Linked DNA regions of Homo sapiens: regions 2, 3, 4, 5, 6 and 7 are each linked to region 1. The links are contacts of gene promoters, found by promoter capture Hi-C in blood cells and fetal thymus (Javierre and others, 2016). All regions are on one chromosome and are shown on one strand. The core of a region is centred on a gene start or on the middle of the fragment in contact, and the rest is flanking DNA. Distances in the headings are between cores, read along the strand shown.

Evidence for each region. The method cuts DNA at HindIII sites, captures the fragments that hold promoters and counts their contacts. A CHiCAGO score of 5 or more calls a contact.
Region 2: a fragment that was not itself captured here is called in contact with the fragment with the promoter of CYP24A1 in region 1 in 5 of 17 cell types (total CD4 T cells, activated CD4 T cells, naive CD4 T cells and 2 more); the score reaches 8.3 in total CD4 T cells.
Region 3: a contact is called between a fragment that was not itself captured here and the fragment with the promoter of CYP24A1 in region 1, in 6 of 17 cell types (activated CD4 T cells, non-activated CD4 T cells, naive CD4 T cells and 3 more). The highest score is 9.2, in activated CD4 T cells.
Region 4: a fragment that was not itself captured here is called in contact with the fragment with the promoter of CYP24A1 in region 1 in 2 of 17 cell types (naive B cells and naive CD8 T cells); the score reaches 6.7 in naive B cells.
Region 5: a contact is called between a fragment that was not itself captured here and the fragment with the promoter of CYP24A1 in region 1, in 4 of 17 cell types (total CD4 T cells, total B cells, naive CD8 T cells and 1 more). The highest score is 8.9, in total CD4 T cells.
Region 6: a fragment that was not itself captured here is called in contact with the fragment with the promoter of CYP24A1 in region 1 in 1 of 17 cell types (total B cells); the score reaches 7.4 in total B cells.
Region 7: a fragment that was not itself captured here is called in contact with the fragment with the promoter of CYP24A1 in region 1 in 2 of 17 cell types (naive B cells and total B cells); the score reaches 6.6 in naive B cells.

What each region holds. Positions count from the first base shown.
Region 1 is chr20:54,172,561-54,175,305 of GRCh38, reverse strand. CYP24A1 (cytochrome P450 family 24 subfamily A member 1) reads left to right here and starts at 1,320. Exons shown (of 12, transcript NM_000782.5): 1 at 1,320-1,984; 2 at 2,207-2,397. The coding sequence starts at 1,727. RefSeq lists an enhancer at 1,097-1,690. The HindIII fragment of the contact is 2,450 bases long and covers 53-2,502 here.
Region 2 is chr20:52,210,954-52,213,698 of GRCh38, reverse strand. The region is part of intron 1 of LOC105372666 (a long non-coding RNA gene); the gene reads right to left. Among named protein-coding and RNA genes, the nearest start is that of ZFP64, 21 kb to the right of the region's middle. The HindIII fragment of the contact is 210 bases long and covers 1,308-1,517 here.
Region 3 is chr20:52,229,833-52,232,577 of GRCh38, reverse strand. The region is part of intron 1 of LOC105372666 (a long non-coding RNA gene); the gene reads right to left. Among named protein-coding and RNA genes, the nearest start is that of ZFP64, 39 kb to the right of the region's middle. The HindIII fragment of the contact is 182 bases long and covers 1,324-1,505 here.
Region 4 is chr20:52,247,952-52,250,696 of GRCh38, reverse strand. The region is part of intron 2 of LOC105372666 (a long non-coding RNA gene); the gene reads right to left. Among named protein-coding and RNA genes, the nearest start is that of ZFP64, 58 kb to the right of the region's middle. The HindIII fragment of the contact is 3,826 bases long and covers 1-2,745 here.
Region 5 is chr20:52,265,597-52,268,341 of GRCh38, reverse strand. The region is part of intron 2 of LOC105372666 (a long non-coding RNA gene); the gene reads right to left. Among named protein-coding and RNA genes, the nearest start is that of ZFP64, 75 kb to the right of the region's middle. The HindIII fragment of the contact is 6,103 bases long and covers 1-2,745 here.
Region 6 is chr20:52,285,025-52,287,769 of GRCh38, reverse strand. The region is part of intron 2 of LOC105372666 (a long non-coding RNA gene); the gene reads right to left. Among named protein-coding and RNA genes, the nearest start is that of ZFP64, 95 kb to the right of the region's middle. The HindIII fragment of the contact is 3,656 bases long and covers 1-2,745 here.
Region 7 is chr20:52,301,956-52,304,700 of GRCh38, reverse strand. The region is part of intron 2 of LOC105372666 (a long non-coding RNA gene); the gene reads right to left. Among named protein-coding and RNA genes, the nearest start is that of ZFP64, 110 kb to the right of the region's middle. The HindIII fragment of the contact is 3,487 bases long and covers 1-2,745 here.

The DNA of each region.
Region 1 (2,745 bases), core at 71-2,570:
ATAAACAGTCATTAGCCCCTCCAGACAAATCAGAAATGATGGTGTTAAAGCTTAAGTTGGACTGCAAAAGATTTTTAAGAAACAAACTAGAGGCTTACAAAAGAATTTACCAGGGAAGGATTTGCCAACACTTGGGGCAAAAATGACTGAGACACGTAATTGAAAAGCAGGGCGAGGAAACAGAATGTCCCTCCCCTCCTCCCTGGCTGGTGGTAGTTTTGTATTGGATCAGGTTGAAAGGATTCGAGCCACTTTAAAACAATCAACAAAAATCTCCAACTTCCGTTCCTGAATTAGCAAAGCGAGTTCTACTCTTGCCAGCCGCGGTAACTCTAGAAATTGTGTATGTTTGTCACTGGACCTGCCTAGGACGCACCTTGGGGGAGAGGGGGAGTACTGGGGGCGGTGGTTTCAAGCTCTGTGTGCCCCTCCTTTGCACAAGGTAGTCGGTGTAGAAGAACAGAGGCGGGCAGTGGACATAGGGGAGGTGGCCCAGCCTGAATTCAAGCATCGTTGGTGCAAGCCACGCTCTCAAGGCGCATTTCCTAACTTCCTAAAGAAGTAACAACAGCAACTAACTTTTATTGACTGTTGACTATAGACAAGGCTTCGTTGTTGCCGCTTTACGTGCATTAATTCATTTAATCTGCAAAACAACCAAACATGAAACAGCAGGAAGGAAATTCTACAAACTCCCCTTCTTGCTCAAGTTAAGAAAGTCTCCTCTTCTGGTGCATTTCAGTAAGACTCAAATCCTCCCCACCCTGGGAGGCGCAGAAAGCCAAACTTCCTCCAAAAAAAAAAAGGCAAAAAAAAAAAAAAAATCACTTCAGTCCAGGCTGGGGGTATCTGGCTCCCCGGGAGGCGCCCGGGCTCCCCGGGGCCCTGGCAGACGCCGGCAGCTTTTCTGGGCCCGCACTCGGGGACCTCGCCCGCCCGGCATCGCGATTGTGCAAGCGCCGGGCGGCAACCACGGCCGCCGCTGCCGGCTCCTGCCCGCCGGGGGAGGGCGGGGAGGCGCGTTCGAAGCACACCCGGTGAACTCCGGGCTTCGCATGACTTCCTGGGGGTTATCTCCGGGGTGGAGTCTGCCGCCCCCACCCCACCTCCCGCGCCCAGCGAACATAGCCCCGGTCACCCCAGGCCCGGACGCCCTCGCTCACCTCGCTGACTCCATCCTCCTTCCACCCCCCCTCCCCTGGGTCCCGCGTCCCTCGGAGTCTGGCCAGCCGGGGGCCACTCCGCCCTCCTCTGCGTGCTCATTGGCCACCCAGGGCATGCTCTGTCTCCATAAATGCATGGTCCCTGGGCATAGGAACATGGAGAGGGACAGGAGGAAACGCAGCGCCAGCAGCATCTCATCTACCCTCCTTGACACCTCCCCGTGGCTCCAGCCAGACCCTAGAGGTCAGCCTTGCGGACCAACAGGAGGACTCCCAGCTTTCCCTTTTCAAGAGGTCCCCAGACACCGGCCACCCTCTTCCAGCCCCTGCGGCCAGTGCAAGGAGGCACCAATGCTCTGAGGCTGTCGCGTGGTGCAGCGTCGAGCATCCTCGCCGAGGTCCTTTCTGCTGCCTGTCCCGCCTCACCCCGCTCCATCACACCAGCTGGCCCTCTTTGCTTCCTTTTCCCAGAATCGTTAAGCCCCGACTCCCACTAGCACCTCGTACCAACCTCGCCCCACCCCATCCTCCTGCCTTCCCGCGCTCCGGTGTCCCCCGCTGCCATGAGCTCCCCCATCAGCAAGAGCCGCTCGCTTGCCGCCTTCCTGCAGCAGCTGCGCAGTCCGAGGCAGCCCCCGAGACTGGTGACATCTACGGCGTACACGTCCCCTCAGCCGCGAGAGGTGCCAGTCTGCCCGCTGACAGCTGGTGGCGAGACTCAGAACGCGGCCGCCCTGCCGGGCCCCACCAGCTGGCCACTGCTGGGCAGCCTGCTGCAGATTCTCTGGAAAGGGGGTCTCAAGAAACAGCACGACACCCTGGTAAACCCCTTTTCGCGCCCCTGACTCTCTCCTCCCTCTTCCGCCCTCCCAGTGGCGCTCCAAACCCTCCCCGACATGCGCGCCTCGGGCGCATGGTGCGCTTCGGCGTCTGGGCAGGGAGGGTCCCCGGTCCCCTAGGAGGAAGGAGGCGGGAGGAGGGAAAGCGCTTCGGGCACGGCGGAGGATGCGCGCTGACACCGCGCTGTGCCCGGCCGGCTGCAGGTGGAGTACCACAAGAAGTATGGCAAGATTTTCCGCATGAAGTTGGGTTCCTTTGAGTCGGTGCACCTGGGCTCGCCATGCCTGCTGGAAGCGCTGTACCGCACCGAGAGCGCGTACCCGCAGCGGCTGGAGATCAAACCGTGGAAGGCCTATCGCGACTACCGCAAAGAAGGCTACGGGCTGCTGATCCTGTGAGTCCAATCCGAGGGACCTGGGCATGCGGCCAGACCTGATGAGCCTGACGGCGCCTGGAAATTGTGAAGAGGCGGAGTTAGAGTTCCCTGGGGTTGGAAGCTTCTTACGTAGGGCGGATACCAAAGCCCCTCTCCCGTGCCATCGCAACCCTGAGCTCTTGTACAGATTAGAGTCGGTCCACGGAAAAGCCGTGCTGTGCACCCAGCACCTGCGTTCTCTCTGGCAACAGGGCAGGGCCACACCCTCCCATCAAAGAAACGCCAAAACAGGGTTGTACCAACTGTGGTGTTCAGACTCTTGGGCAGGATGAGGTTCTGAAGTCAGCGTACCAGGCAAACATCTTA
Region 2 (2,745 bases), core at 163-2,662, 2.0 Mb after region 1:
AGCTAATAAGCCATAGGAAAGGAAAATAAATCTCGATCTTAGCCAAAAGGCTGAGAAGCAATGGAAAATAAATCTTGGGACTCCAAAATCACTAAGACAAGGGAAAAGTCAAGCTGGGAATTATGTCAGGCAAACCTGCCTCCCATTTTATTCCTAAATAGGATAGTTACAAAGATAAAAAGCTATATACCTCCCTCACAATTTGCCCACAAGGAAATTCCTTGTGGACAAAGGACAGACAGAACTCAGTCATCCCTCTCAGGCTCACCAGAGACAAATGCATATATGATTGCTTCTTCTGCCTTATGTTTGTGTAAAAATGCAGATTTAATGAGCCAGACTAAATTGTGTATTTAGTGGAAGGCTGATCAAGGACTCAAAAGAATGCAACCTTTTGTCTCTTTTCTACTTATGACCTGGAAGCCCCCACCTCTAGCTGACCCACCTTACCAGACAGAACCAATGTAATCTTTCACATATTGATTGATGTTTCACATCTCGCTAAAATGTACAAAAGCAAGCTGTACCCCAACCCCCTTGGGTGCATGACGTCAGGACCTCCTGAAGCTGTGTCACAGGTGTGTCCTTAACCTTCAAAAAATAAACTTTCTAATTTGACTGAGACTTGTCTCAGATATTTGGGGTTCACAGCCACTTAGTATTTTAAGCCACTAAATTTGAAGCAATTTGTAACAGCAGCAGTAGGAAACTGATACTCCTCTGTTTGCAAATTCATTTCAAATTTCTGATCAGTGAATTTCAAATTTCTGATCTGCTCTTTGCGTTCTCCTTTGAGCTGGTTCTAACACCTCACCAGCTTCCTCATTCATGAGTTCAATAAAATCTTTCATGTGTGTTCATTTTTTTTCCTGAGAGTTACAATTTTACCTTTTTTTAAAAAACTAGCTTTTAACACTGGAAAGTAGATGAACAAGTGATAACTGGATTAGCAGACTCAGGAAAACTGAATCCCAAGCTGTCAGTGGGAAAAAGGCAAAAGAAAAACAAAAAAAAAAAAAGAAAAAGAGAAAGAACCCAAGTGTCCTGCAGGGCCTTGAAACATTCAGGAATGAGTAGCACCAGATATCTCTGCAGGTTGGAGGCATAAGTGGGGCAAAAAATAGAAAGAGTGTTTGAAAATCAAAGAAAGAGTTAGATCCCAGGTTTCCTCTCCCATGCCACGGGCATCTGACAGCCTCTGTCCTGTTCAGATGACTGCACTTTATTCTTTTGAGAGGATAAAAGAGAGAGTCTCTGGACAGGGAGCTTCAGGTACAGGGACTAAGCAGGGGGTACGGGGGGAAGCTTATATACGGATTGCTGAGACCTCTGCAACCTTCCTTCCCTAGCATGTCCCAAAAGCACTGGCAGGAGGGATTGTATCCTCTAGGCAGGAGAGTGATCCGGTCTGCTCTGAGAAATGCACCCAGTGCAGAAAAAGGAAAACGAAATACACTGATATTTTGGAGCAGGTAGGACACACCCCAGCCAGGTCACCCTGCACTGATACTTAAGCTTGACAAGCCACCCACCCCTACCCTGCGTTCTCAGAATTATCAATCAGCTCTTCAGCACCTCCTTCTAAAATAAGATCAGACTCCTAGCACTCTGGGAGGCCGAGGTGGGCAGACCACCTGAGGTCAGGAGTTCGAGACCAGCCTGGCCAACACAGTGAAACCCGTCTCTACTAAAAATGCAAACATTAGTCAGGCATGGTGGGTGCCTGTAATTCCATCTACTCGGGAGGCTGAGGCAGGAACCTCCCTGAAACCCGGGAGGCAGACGTTGCAGTGAGCTGAGATGGCACCACTGCACTCCAGCCTGGGCAACAGTGAGACTACATCTCAAAAAATAATAACTAAATAAATAAGATCAGACAGCCAAGGAGCACAAGACCTTCGAGCAAACCTGAGAGCCAAAGGCCAAAACAACCAAACAGAAAAAAGACAGGCCACATGGGTGAAACCAAAACTGGGAGAAGGAAAAAGGTTCCTCCCTCAAAACATTAACATCCTCAGAGAGGTAAGAGAAAATACCACACTCACGAAATAAGAATAAGATGCCAATTTGTTTTCATTCAAATGGTAGAAAAGGTTCTGAGAAATTAAAAATATGACAGCAGAAATGAAAAATTTAATAGAAAGCTTGAAAAATAAAGTTAAGGAAATATTCCAGAAAGTTGAGCAGAAAGACCAAGACATGCAAAACGGGGAGAAAAGATAAATTTAAAAATGACAGGACTAGTGCAAGAGTTCCTATTCCAAACACCAGGAGTTCCAGACAGAGAACAAAAAAACCAGAAGGGCAGAAAAAATGTTAATAAATTGTCCCAGAACCCGCAGAGAACAGGATTTATTAGATGGTAGGCGTGAGTATCACATGCAATATGTGGAAATAGATCCAACCAATAAATACTATCATCAAGTTTTAGATTACTAAGGAGCAAGGAAAGTAGCTATAAGCTGGTGAAAATAATGAAGTTTCCATTGAGAGATGTAACAATCAGAATAGCATCAGAGTTATATCACCAGCAACATGAGAAACTCAAGGACAACAGGGTAATACCTTCGAATTTCTTTTTTTTTTTTTTTTTTTTTTTTTGAGACCAAGTTTCACTCAGTTGTCCAGGCTGGAGTGCAACGGTGTAATCTCGGCTCACTGCCACCTCCTCCTCCCAGGCTCAAGCGATCCACTCACCTCAGCCTCCTGAGTAGCTGGGATTAAAGGTGCGCCCCACCACACCGG
Region 3 (2,745 bases), core at 165-2,664, 1.9 Mb after region 1:
TTGGTTCAAGAAATGCCCCAAAAAATCCACAAATGCTCAAGTCACTTAAATGAAATGGCATAGTATTTGTATATAACCTATGCACATCCTCCTGTAATTCTAAATCATCTCTAGATCACTTGTAATACCTAATATAATGTAAATACTAAGTAAATAGTTGTTACACTGAATTTTTTAAATATGTATTTTTATGGTTGTATATTTTCTTTTTTCCCCTAATATTTTCAAACCAAAGTTGGTTGAATCCCTAGATACAGAACTCATAAATACAGAGAGCCAATTGTATAGCAAATCAATCAATCAATAAGTGTATTTGAGCACCACTAAATCTATGGGATTCATGACTCACATATGAAATTACTGATGACATAAGAACATAATAAAACTATTACACCTCTTTAAGGTACAAATAGCAAATCATGTAAATGTAAGACACGGCCGTTTAGTTAAGAAAGGAGATGTTCCTGTTTAAGTTCAAAACATAATTAATTATGGTCCGAAGACATAAATTTTACCATCAGCTTCTATAAAATGTTACTATTGAAACTAGGTCACTATGCAAGAAGTATAGGTAGTTCCTCAAGAGGAAATACTTCAAAGATTAATATAAATAATAATGTTTTAAAGTTTCAAAAATATATCCAAGAATTCAAAAGCTGTGTATACATAATACTTGACTTTCTTTAAAAAAAAAAAAATTCATTCCAGGGGGAAGAAAAAAGTCTTCTCTTGAGCATATATATAAAGGTTAAGAAATATTAGTAGATTATTTATATATGTTGGTTTCCATTTTCTATCATAAAATTTAAAAAGTCAAGACAAATTAAAAATTGTCACACTTCATATCAATTATATATTGAAATATGCCTGAAAGAAAAGATTTGAAAGTAAGCAAACAATAAAATTAATACAGCAGGCCTCCTATTTCTGTGAATTTGTTGAAGCAGGAAGGGAAGATAAGGAGAAGAAGAAAAAGAGAAGGAGGAGGAGAAGGGAGGCAGGAAGAGGAAGCTGCCAAATTTATAATGCTGAAAGAACAACTTTACAAGCTCCAAAGTTCACATTTGGTTATGTTGTAAACATCAAAACCAAACTGTAGTAAGTCACCTCACAGAGTTATTTTGTCAATGATTGACTGACAATCTTTGAACAATCCCTTAGAAGACCAATCACATTTCAAAATGATTCATCATGGCATGAGGCAAACCTGTAAGGTGGACTTAGCCTTTTAAATTACATGATATGTTACTATCAATATAAGCATATCCATTATATGTCTCTAAATTTTGCCTATAGGCTAGAAAATAATAGGTAGCAAAAGCTTTTAAGAAACATACATTTGTATAATTTCCATTGTCTTTTCTCATTATCTATTGATACTGTATCTCCTGCTCTAATACAGGGGTTGTTTTGATGACACAAATTACACCAAAACTCACTATCTTCCCCGAATCTTAGTTATCAAATCCCAGAATAAAAAGTCCCTCTCAATGAGTGTTAAAGCTTCTCTCTCCCTTTTGTTAATTTTCTTAAAAAACAATAGGCCCTAACAAGAGGAAAACACGTCCTCTCCATTCCATAGTTATTTGCAAATATTGTGTCAGTGAAAAAAAGCCAGACAGTGCTGTTTTTTAAGTCCAGATCAATAAACATCACCCAGTGTAAAAACCATACCACCTTATCTGTAATGCTTGGACTCAAGGAGCTAGCAAAAGATTTGTAGGGTAAAATCTCCACAAAGGATACTACTCTGGGTGAGATTTGGTATATATGTGTTAATAAATTTTTTGTCAACTGGCCTTTAGGATTACTCTTCTGTCTGAATTTTGGTTTTGTTTTCTCTCTGTTCCTCCCCCATGGGGTTGAACCTAGAAATAGCATCGCTCTTGAGCTCGTTAGTTTGACAAACTGGCCTAAGTGTGCAGCAGCAATGGGTACCTCCAACACAGCAGCATTTATGAGTCTCCGGGGGATTCTGAGAAACACCAGGAAGTGTTTAGGTACTGAATCACAGCCAAGTATTCTGAATCTTTACTTTTTTTTTTCTATGAGGATGTCAGCATTAAAATATAGAACATGCTTTTCCCACTTGGCTTCTATTATTTGTAAAGCATTCAAGAGTTTCTAGGCTAGAACTACCTCCATCCCCAGGCAGGAGGGCAGGCAAAAACTCCAAGGAGCCTTAACAGTTCCTCTGCTGGTCTTCTTTTACACTTTTGACCCAACAACATAATAAAAATGACTAAATGCTAAACCTGAGTGCTGTGCTTGTAAATCCATCATATTTTTTATCATATTTATCCACGCAGTGTTCTCACCTTTGCTGCTTCAGATAATGCATGTTGAAATACATTTCAAAAGATAACTAGTTAGTTTTCAGATATGACACATCTATCATCCAAATAACCAGGCAATTATGACATAGTAAACCTTACGAATAAATGATTTGTTTTAAAGGTGGTTTAGATTACACTTAAAAATTAAAGTTCACATCAAAGGCAGGAAAAACAAGAAACAGTGTTTGTAAATAAGAATTTAAAACTGAAATTTGGGCAGGGATAGTATTTTTGCTCAGCTAATTTTGGTTTTTAATTACACACATTTGTTATTTATGCTACAATACCTCAGACAACTACTGGGGAAAAAGAGGGATTGCAAGTTTATTGTCTCAAATCTTAACTTTATCTATCTTAGTTTATGGACTACACCAGCATTTTTAAATAAATCAGCCCAACAATTCCACAT
Region 4 (2,745 bases), core at 84-2,583, 1.9 Mb after region 1:
CTGAGTATGACTTCTCACTCAAGGAACAATGAAAACATGAGAAGTCGTTTTAATAAAGAGAATTTGCACCGCCAGGCGTGGTGGCTCACGCCTGTAATCCCAGCACTTTGGGAGGCCAAGGCGGGCGGATCACAAGGTCAGGAGATCGAGACCATCCTGGCTAACATGGTGAAACCCTGTCTCTACTAAAAATACAAAAAATTAGCTGGGCGCAGTGGCGGGTGCCTGTAGTCCCAGCTACTCAAGAGGCTGAGGCAGGAGAATGGCATGAACCTGGAAGGCGGAGCTTGCAGTGAGCCGAGATGGTGCCACTGCACTCCAGCCTGGGTGACAGAGCAAGACTCCATCTCAAAAAAATAATAATAAAATTAAATTAAATTAAAATAAAGAGAATTTGTAAAGGGAATCTGAGTGAAGGCATAGGAGGAACTTGATTTATATCCAGACATTGAAAGGACATCAAAGAAAGCATGAAAAAGAATCCCAGTAATTATTTTCATCATGGAACCTGTATCTATTGATTTTCAGTGTTCAGCTGGTTGTAAAAAATACCAGCTGCATAATGAAATGTCATTTACATAGAGTATGAATTGCATGCAACATGAACAGAAACTTAGTTTTCTAATGGAAACATATTTCTGGGTTTTTTTCTCATGAGAGATATTATCCTTTATTTTTAAAAGTCATTTGACTTTTAAAGAGATATTGAAAATCCCTCTCATAGTCCCAGCCCATGGGGGAAGCCTACTTCTCACACATCCATCTCAGGCTTATTTTTATATCTTTTTATGCAAACATCCATACGTGTCTTCAAACAAAAATGGAATCACATGATAATGCTAAGGGCAGGAACACTTATTCTCTAGTCCTCATGTTTCCCTATGGAGGGACCACGATCATGGTAAGACTCCTGTCCTCACCCCACAAAAGAGTGAGTTAATTGATTGATAGGTGTATTAGTCCATTTTTACACTGCTATAAAGAACTAACTGAAAGTGGGTAATTAATGAAGAAAAGAGGTTTGACTCCCAGTTCTACATCCCTAACAGGAAGCATGGCAAGGAAGCCTCAGGAAACTTACAATCATGGCAGAAGGCGAAGGGGAAGCAAGCACATCTTAGCATTTTGGAGCAGGAGAGAGAGACTGAAGGGGGAAGTGCCACACATTTTTAAACCATCAGATTTCATGAGAACACAGTTACTATCATGAGACCAGCAAAGGGAAAATCAGCCCCCATGATCCAATCACCTCCCACCAGGCCCCTCCCCTGACACGTGGGGATTACAATTTGACATGAGATTTGGGTGGGGACATAGAGTCAAACCATATCAATGGGTGATAGCCATTTGTCCACATATCTCAACTAGGTAAGCTAACACACTAAAAGGCTATTTGCAATTTGCTCCCTTTCTTCTCTGCCCCAGAACCAAGCAATCTTTGAGGCAACAATCTTCCACAAGCGTAACTTTTGCCTGGGTGGGCTATAATGAACCCATGTGGATACTCTCGTAAGCTACATCCTCCGATAAAACTTTTATCCGTAATGAAGATGATGTTTTTATCACCATCTCTCTGACTTTTGCGGTTCTCTCTCAATTGATTCAAAACTTAAACAAGAAAGAAGAATATTACTTTATTAGGCCCCACTCAAGCCCCAATGTACACACATCCATTATTAACAGACTTTCATATGACAATATTTTGTGGACACATTTCCACAGTGATAAAGATTAGCTTACCTATTGGCCGGGCTAAATACGTGTATTAGTCTGCCTTCATGCTACTGATAAAGACATACCCAAGACTGGGCAATTTATAAAGAAAAAGAGGTTTAATAGACTCACTGTTACACATGGCTGGGAAGCCCTTACAATCATGGCAGAAGGCAAAAGGCACATCTTCCATGGTGACAGACAAGAGAGAATGAGAGCCATGTGAAAGGGGAAACTTCTTATAAAACCATCAGATCTCGTGAGACTTATCCACTACCACAGGAACAGTATGGGGGAACCACCTCCATGATTCAATTATCTCCCACCAGGTCCCTTCCACAACTCATGGGAATTATGGGAGCTACAATTCAAGATGGGATTTGGGTGGGGACAGCCAAAACATATCAATACCTAACTACATTGTGCATTAATACATACATCCTGCATGGTATAAGAATTTATTTGGTCAATCCCCTATTGATAGGCAGTTGAGTGCTTTCAGTTTTTCACTGAAATAAACAACAGTGCAATGAGAATCTTGGCACATACATCTTAATGTACTTATCCAATTATTTCCCTAGGTTAATTCCTACAAGTGAAATTGCTGGATCGAAGCACATGGACAAGAAGTATCTGTGGCACTTATTGCAGAAAGTTTGCATTGGTGGAACCTCGAGTGTCTGCTTTCCCACATCCTTACCAGCACTGAGAATTTTCTTTTTCATGTTTTCCACCTCTCTGAAATAAAATTAATACCTGATTTTGTTTGCAATTTCATTTTTACTGAGGCTGCATAATTTTTCATATACTTATTTTTCTATGAATTGCCTGAGGATATTAAATTTTGTTACCATAGCCAATGCCCATAGAGGCATTTGTTCAGTGTCAACTTACATCAAAAGTGCCTCTCCCAGCCTCTTCTCTCACCACTCTGCTCATGCACCCATCCTAAAGTCAAGAATCAGAGTTGTAAGCAACAGAAACCACCTCTGGCTACTTTGAGTGGAAATGGAATTTAATAAAGGATATTTT
Region 5 (2,745 bases), core at 116-2,615, 1.9 Mb after region 1:
GAGAAATAGATTAAAGGAAGAAAGATCCAATGTGAGTAATTCTACAGGAACTATCTTATCCAAAACGAAGGTAGCTGATTGGACATAACTTCTGGAAGTAACAGTGAGTGACGATCCTTCAAATCATGATGTTCTAACACTGTCTATCTTAGTTATCATACTCAGACATCTCTCATTTTTATATCTAAGAATGCATATTCATTTGTAATTAAATTATGCTGTAACCTGCACAGAATTCTTTGAAAAGGCTTACTGGGCCAGGCGCAGCGGCTCACGCCTGTAATCCCAGCACTTTAGGAAGCCGAGGTGGGTAGATCACGAGGTCAGGAGTTCAAGACTACCCTGGCCAAGATGGTGAAACCCTGTCTCTACTAAAAATACAAAAATTAGCCAGGCGTGGTGGTGGGCGCCTGTAATCCCACCTGCTCAGAAGGCTGACACAGAGAAGTGCTTGAACCCAGGAGGTGAAGGTTGCAGTGAGCCGAGATCATGCCACTGCTCTCCAGCCTGGGCAACAGAGTGAGACTCTGTCTCAAAAAAAAAAAAAGAAAGAAAGAAGGAAGGAAGGAAGGAAGGAAGGAAGGAAGGAAAGAAAGAAAGAAAAGGCTTATTGACATATTGAACAGAGACTATCTTATTTACAGAATTTGCTGAGCTTTTCTAAACAGAGACTGAAGGATAATATTTTGTTACAGATTAAAAGTGATTTAGGCAATATATAGACTATAGACATTTTGTTAGGGAATTTTCTTTTTGGAGAACAGGGCTTTGCTCTTTCACCTAGGCTGGCACAATCATAGCTTGCTGCAGACTCAAACTCCTGGGCTCAAGGATCCTCCTGCCTCAGCCTTCTGAGTGGCTAGAACTACAGGCACACACCACCATGCCTGGCTGGGTTTTTGCTTTTATTTTTTAGAAATGGGGTCTCTCACTATGTTGCCCAGGCTGGTCTCAAACTCCTGGCCTCAAGCGACCCTCTCACCTCAACCTTCCAAAGTGCTGGGACTACAGGAGTGAGCCACCACACCTAGTTTGGGGATTTTCTTAGATATTTTTGTTTTGTTAAATGACTGCCACAAAGACAGGCCTGTAACCAAGATTTTCTTTTTTTTTTTTTTTTTTTTGCTTGTTTACTCAAGATCTGGAAAGGGAAAAATGATTAGCTTTTAATGTTCACATTTCTTTGAGAGACTGGTTACTTCCATTGGAGTCTGATAACAAGTCTCAGGTGGCGTAAATCAGGCAGTGTCTAGAAGCACACAGTTTTGCAACAGACAAATTTAAATTAACTAGGGAAATGGTGGAAAATGCAACACGGTAAAATGAAAAAGTTCACAGCACATGTCTAAAACACCTTTTTCAGAACCAGGCACTTTTCTTCCTATCTGGTGGGAGTACAAATGAATTCACACTTTTTGGAGGACGATTTGACAATAGCTTTCATACTGTATAACATCAGCCCATTTGACTCCAATATTCTATTTATAGGAATATATACACTATAGATATTCTTGCATATGAGTACAAAACTAAATGTTCAAAATTGATTTTACAAAGTTGTTTGTATAAAAAAAAACTGAAAACACTTCAAGGTCTATCAATGGGAGAATATTTGAACAAATCATGCTTGATCCATTGTTTGTAACAGCAGAACACTGGAAACAATCTAAATGATCATTACTAGAAGAGTAGATAAATGATGCATTCATATGGTGAAATGGCACAACCATTAAAAATAAAGATCCATAGTACTAACATGAAAAGATACACTAGGTGGTAAGTGGGAAAAAAAGTATCTTACAGATCACTGTGTATGATATGGCCAGTGATGCTGGTGGGTAGGCAGTGTGCATGTGTTGAATGTTTAAAGTTTTATATATCCACTAGAATGTAAATCCCCATGAGGGAAGGGATTTAGCCTGTCTTGTTCACCAACATATTGCCAGTCCCTACATCAATGCCTAGCACATTATAGGGACTCAAAAGCCATTTGTTGAATAAATAAATGATTGTACACTAGTGCAAGCATAATTTAAAAGATATGGAAAGATGCACACCAAATTCATAGGAGAAAAAGCACAAGATTAAAGGAGAGAGAGACTGGGGAGGATTATGCTGATCCTCTGCACAGTTGGAAATTTTACTATGAGATTTTTCAAAAGGCTTTATGTAAAAAAAATTGAAAGGCTTGCAAAATATAATAAAACCACAAAATACAAAGCTATAATGTGGCTTTCATTTGCAATTTTTTTAATCTAGAATACAGTTCCTCCTATCTTGCCCCATTTTCCACTTCTGTCAGCTCCCACAAGAAAGGAAAGAAATGGAGTGAGGATGACAGGTAGCAGTTAACCAGGAAAAGATGCTCTCCTAAAGCCAGTGTTATTGCACATTTGGGGGTTGACCTTAGCACTCGTGAATTCTGACCTTGTGAAATACTCAACAGGAAAAGACTCAAAGAAAGTCATCAAGAACAGCTCAATCAAGATGTCCGAGCAGTATGATACAGCAGTGAAGAGAGACGGGGAACGGATGGACACATTAAAAATGAATAGGAAGGATATTAAAGGACTTCCGGTTAAAAATGGTGGCTTGAATTCACCCGTTCATCTTCTCTCCTTCTCCAAACCCCACTGAAATGACAGTAAAGGAACTAAAGAGGTATAAATTCACAAGGACAAAGAGAGTGGGAGAATAATGACAGGAGAGAAATGTCAGCCAAATTTTGAAAGACAGAAAGTGGAT
Region 6 (2,745 bases), core at 66-2,565, 1.9 Mb after region 1:
GCCTTGGAAACTGTGAAGCTAAGCAGTGTGGTTTGCCTCAATTAAGAGCAGAGAAATGGTTTCTTCTCTGTGTTGTGATTTTAAGTAATATCAATGTTTCCTAAAACTTATTAGTGTAGGTCTAGGTGAAACAAAAATAAGATACCACACTGGGAAATTAATTTTAAACAAATTACATGTAAAATGCAAGGATTTGTAATATTGTTTCTAAGGCAGTCTAATCTTCATATCATATATTTTGCTTTATGAAGCTCCCAGTTTTAATCATATTGTTTTTTATTTATTATTCCATATAATAATTGGCTTATTTGTAATATTAATATGCATGAATTTTTTTAGCCTGCTTCTTCAGGAAAGCATTCAGCCTGATGTTTATAATATGTTGATTTTAATATGCAATAGATGTGTTTATATGCAGATTAAATTGGATTGCATTTATACTAAACAAGAAAACCAAAATGTAGAGAGGTGCTGAGACCTGAGTAACTCTCATGAAAGTATAAGAACCCATGACAATTTTCAGCTCATTCCCTCCTAATAGCATAGCAGTAGATCAAACCTTAGCCTGTCTCCGTCAATATGATGCTGTACATATTTTTAGAAAAATGGAGAGGTATTTGACTCTAGAACGCTCCTATAGCAGTGGTTCTCAATGGGGAAGAGAAGGGGATTTGGGCTCCCAGTGGACATTAGGCAATGTCTGAAGATATTTTTGATTGTCATAACTAATGAGGTGGGTGGGAGAGGATGTTACCAGCATTGAATTGGTTGTTAAACACCCTACCATGCCCAGAACAGCTTTCAAACCAAAGAATTCTCCATCCCAAAGTGTCCATAGTTCTGAGGTGGAAAAACTCTGTCCTAGATGAGGAAAGGTGTTTTTTAAAAAGTAACTGAAAGCCTTTAAGCTCTATAAGTTGGGGCTGCAGGTTTTCAAACATTTTCTACAACTCAATCTTCACTAAATAAAAGTAAAAACAGGTATTCGCTGTTTAAAAGCAAATAATATATATTCAACACATATTTACTGAGTTTCCATTGTATGTCAGAGACTATTCTAGGCAAAGTCTTCCAGGGGTGACATCAATGGATAGACAGATGATAGACAGATAGATAGATAGATAGATAGATAGATAGATAGATAGATAGGCAGACAATAAGTAGACATGATATAATGTAGTGGGTAAGTGCTATAGAGAAACATAAAGTAAGTTCAGGAGATGGGAATTTTCAGAAGTTCTTTCTGAAATTATGACATTTGAGCAAACCTAATTGATGTGGAGAAGGGACCCATGCAGATACCTGGGAACAGTGCACCTGGCAGAGAGAACGTCAAATGCACACATTGTGAACTGGAAACGTGCTTGGTGTGATCAAGGAGGAGCAAAGAGACCACCATGAACAAGAGGGAGCATGAAGGAAACAAGGTTAGGCAGAGAGAGGGGCTGGGTCGTGCAGGGCCCTGTAAGCCCTGATAAGGACTTTGGATGTTATGTTAAGTGTGACATCTTTACAGGTGTATATATTTATTGGGATTTTTCTGATTCCAAAGTAATACACGCTCACTGTTTTTAAAAAATAGTAAATATTGCAGATATAATACTTGAAAACACACCAAACACCAATATTAACAATTTGCCGTATATTCCTCCAGTTTTTCCATGCATATACTAAGACCACCATATGTACTATTAAATCATTCGTCCATTCACTTATTACAAATAAATGTGCACATATACAATGCTTTTTGGCAACTTTCTTTTCTCCCAATTATTTCTTTAGCCCAAATGGTTTGGTTTTGTTTTTCTTTATTCAACTTCTCCAGTGACTGGCTTGGAGGGGAGGGGGATGAGGACATTTAAATGCGTGTTATTTAACTCTTTCTTCTCCTTCCCATATCTAGCAGAAAAGTAATCGTGAGAAAAAGTAGACAGGAAAATCAGACCAACTTATAACACAAGTGTTGGAATTAGGCAGAGCTCTATATTTTTAAAGAGCTTATTTTATTTCCTTCACTAATGCATTGTAATTTTTCTCTGTGGATATCTTACACATCTTTTGTTAGTTTTTCCCCCAGGTGTAGGTTTGTTTTTGTTTTTGAGAAGGTTGTTTTTGTATTTTGAGACAGGGTCTCGCTCTGTCGTCCAGGCTGGAGTGGAGTGGCACAATCTCGCTCACTGCAACCTCCGCCTCCTGGGTTCAAGTGATTCTCGTGCCTCAGCTTCCCAAGTAGCTGGGATTACAGGCATACGCCACCATGCTACACCTTTCTAGAACATACCACTTCTCCGTCTAAAACCTTCCAAAGGCTCCCCTTGGATGCTGGACAAAGGCCAAGCCCTTCTCCATTACAGACCCTCCCAACCATGCCTGCTAAAGCTGCAGCCACTGGGTACCTGCAGACACTTTCTTTTAGGTGCCCTATTTCTTCCATGAAGAACATCCTTTTTCTTTACTTTGCCTCAGAGACAGACTAATGCTTCAGTACCAGGTAAAATAACCCCTCTTAGAAAAACCTTCCATAGCCCTTTACTCAAGGTCTGTGGCAGGAATCGATCTTGAACTATTATTCTGCATTACTTCAGTTCAGTTTACTCACCTGCAGTTCTCTTACTGGCATTCCAAGGAACGTTTTCTCCCAAACCGAACCAAAGTCTCAGAGAAGCCACAGGACTATGAGACAAAAAGATTTGGAAACTGCCAGAGAGAATTAACTACCAATGGGCTTTTGTGTGCAGAACCACA
Region 7 (2,745 bases), core at 103-2,602, 1.9 Mb after region 1:
CCAATAAAACTTTATTTACAGCAGTAAGTGATGGGCCAAATTTGGCTCCTGGGCTGTAGTTTGCTGTTCTCTGATCTATTCTATATTATAATTATAAGCATATACGGGTGTGATCTTTATGAACATGGACGAATGGGAACAGAAGAATGGAAGCTCTCATCTCTTTGGGGATTGGGATTATCAGTTGGGTGGCTCTCTGCTATTTTTGTCTATTGATTTATTCTTCTGGGAATGCCACCCTGATTGGGTAGGAGGGAGTAGAGAACTACTTGTCCATCATCTTTAACTCACTGAGTCCAAGAAATTAACCCACCCTTAGATCCAAAGTAGGGCACATACCCGAGACCTGACCGCCCCCTGCCCCCACCACCCTGGTCATTCCACTGTCTTGGCCATGGTAATCTGTTCAGACAGGAGCATGAGCACAAGCAGACCAATATGAAACTCACTTCCTTGTTTTGCTTTGATTTTAATATTAAGAGAGAGAGAACCTCAGGCTGCTGAGTTTACTGAAATCAAAGCATAGGAGGCTAAAAGTTTCTCATGGCCATTTTGCACCCCCAGGCATTGGTCCTGCTGAAGAATGATGCCCACACATTGGGAAACAGATCTAAGAAATGAAGAAATGATTATTCTACTTGAGCATTGTTTGAGTCTCAGATGAAGTGATATCTAAAAGTAATTCTGTTCCTGGATTTTTCTGTGACTCAAGCTCGTGTGTTTTTTCTCCATCTGAGCTTGTTCCAATTCAGTTTTTGTCACTTTCAACCAAAAATTTTAAATGAGATCATTGTTATGGGTTTTTTTTTCTTATTTTAAAAAGTCTTTCAATATCTGTATAATATCACTTTAGCAACAAATAAAATTGAGAGAAGATGGATGAAAAGGTAACATATTTTATGTATTCATTTCTGAAGCAAAACTCATGTTCCATTTTGGCAGTGGGTGGCGGGGGGGCGTTCTTTGTCATTGGACTGACTGAGCCACTTGCAGTTCTGAAATTTGACTGAACAAATCTAAGTACTCTCTCCAAAAATGGACTGGGGGCCTATTTTGAAGCAAATATATAAAGACAGGGCTATAGCAGAGATCACAAATGATGACAATAGAAAATAATTCAGAAAAGACCATCTGACTCTGCAAAAATGCAGTGACATATGTAGGACAGCTGAGAGTCTCCAGGAGAGGATGAAAGCAACCGTGACCATCACGTGGCCACAACCTCCCTGAAAAACAGACTTCGGAAGGAAGCACAAATCTGACAGTGTTCCTGCCGTGCTTAAACCTCAGCCCCAATTCCCAGCTGCCTTCTTAAGCCCAGACTCCCATCGTGGCTATGATTGTCACAGAAGACAAACTTGAGTGTGCAAGAAATAAAATCTTTTAAAATTCTTCTGTAACTCCACTTAAACTGTTTTTATGTCAAGCCCTCCATCTACCTAATGGCAGAAAATTTAGTCACTTCCAGGTAAGTGCCATCATTCTGAGTTAAACACACAACCAATTTAGGATTCTGCACACACACACATACACACAGTCACAAACTCCTTCCTTCTTTTTTGGTAAGCGTCCAAGGACCAAGACATTTTGGAAAATAATCATGTTAGAAAGCAGAGTCTGGCCTGTCACTATACTTTGCTCTCTAGTAGCATCTGGTGGCATTTTCTGGTCTTGGGTGCTGTTGGTGTTTATCTCCCAGCATGTTCTGAGAAGCCCGTGTTACTCACTGTGTCTCTAGTTATCAAGTCTACCAAGGCCAACATGTGGCCTCCACATCAGGTCCCAGTGAGGCGTTCTACAGCCAACCACCCAACCACATTCCAGCCAGGGAGTAGCAAGTGGCCTCTCTACACAAAGAGGCCCCCAAACAGTTGCAAAGAACACTTCCACTTAAACCACTCTGGCCAGAAATTAGGCACATAGTCACACCCAGACACACAAAAAATGCTGGGGTTTGTCATGTTATTCTCATGTGCCTGGATAACCTTTGTGGGTCCAATTACTAAGAAAGAAGGGTTATATTAGCAGAAAACTTGCACTTTCTATCCAGATATTTCATATGTACCTCAAAATTGTCCAAGGCATAAATGTTACTGGAAAGGGGTCCCTATCCAGACCCCAAGAGAGGGTTCTTGGATCTCATGCAAGAAAGAATTCAAGGTGAATCCATACAGTAAAGTGAAAGCAAGTTTATTAAGAAAGTCAAGGAATAAAGATATGGCTATGCCATTGGCAAAGCAGCCCTGAGGGCTGCTGGTTGCCCAGTTTTATGGTTATTTCTTGATGATATGCTAAACAAGGGGTGGATTATTCATGCCTCCCCTTTTTAGACCATACAGGGTAACTTCCTGATGTTGGCATGGCATTTGTAAACTATCGTGGCGCTGGTGGGAGTGTAGCAGTGACGAGGACCAGAGGTCATTCTCATCGCCATCTTGGTTTTGGTGGGTTTTGGCCAGCTTCTTTGCTGTAAACTGTTTTATCAGCAAGGTCTTTATGACCTGTATCTTGTGCCAACCTCCTATCTTATCCTGTGACTTAGAATGTCTAACCTTCAGGGAATGCAGCCCAGTAGGGCTCAGTATTATTTTACCCAGCCCCGATTCAAAATGAAGACGCTCTGGTTTAAATGCCTCTGACATAAAGATAATCATAGAGATGCAATAAGTCAGAATACTGAAAACAAAGAACAAAAGAACAAGGGCAGATGACAAAATTAAAAGAACAAAGGTAACACTTACAATT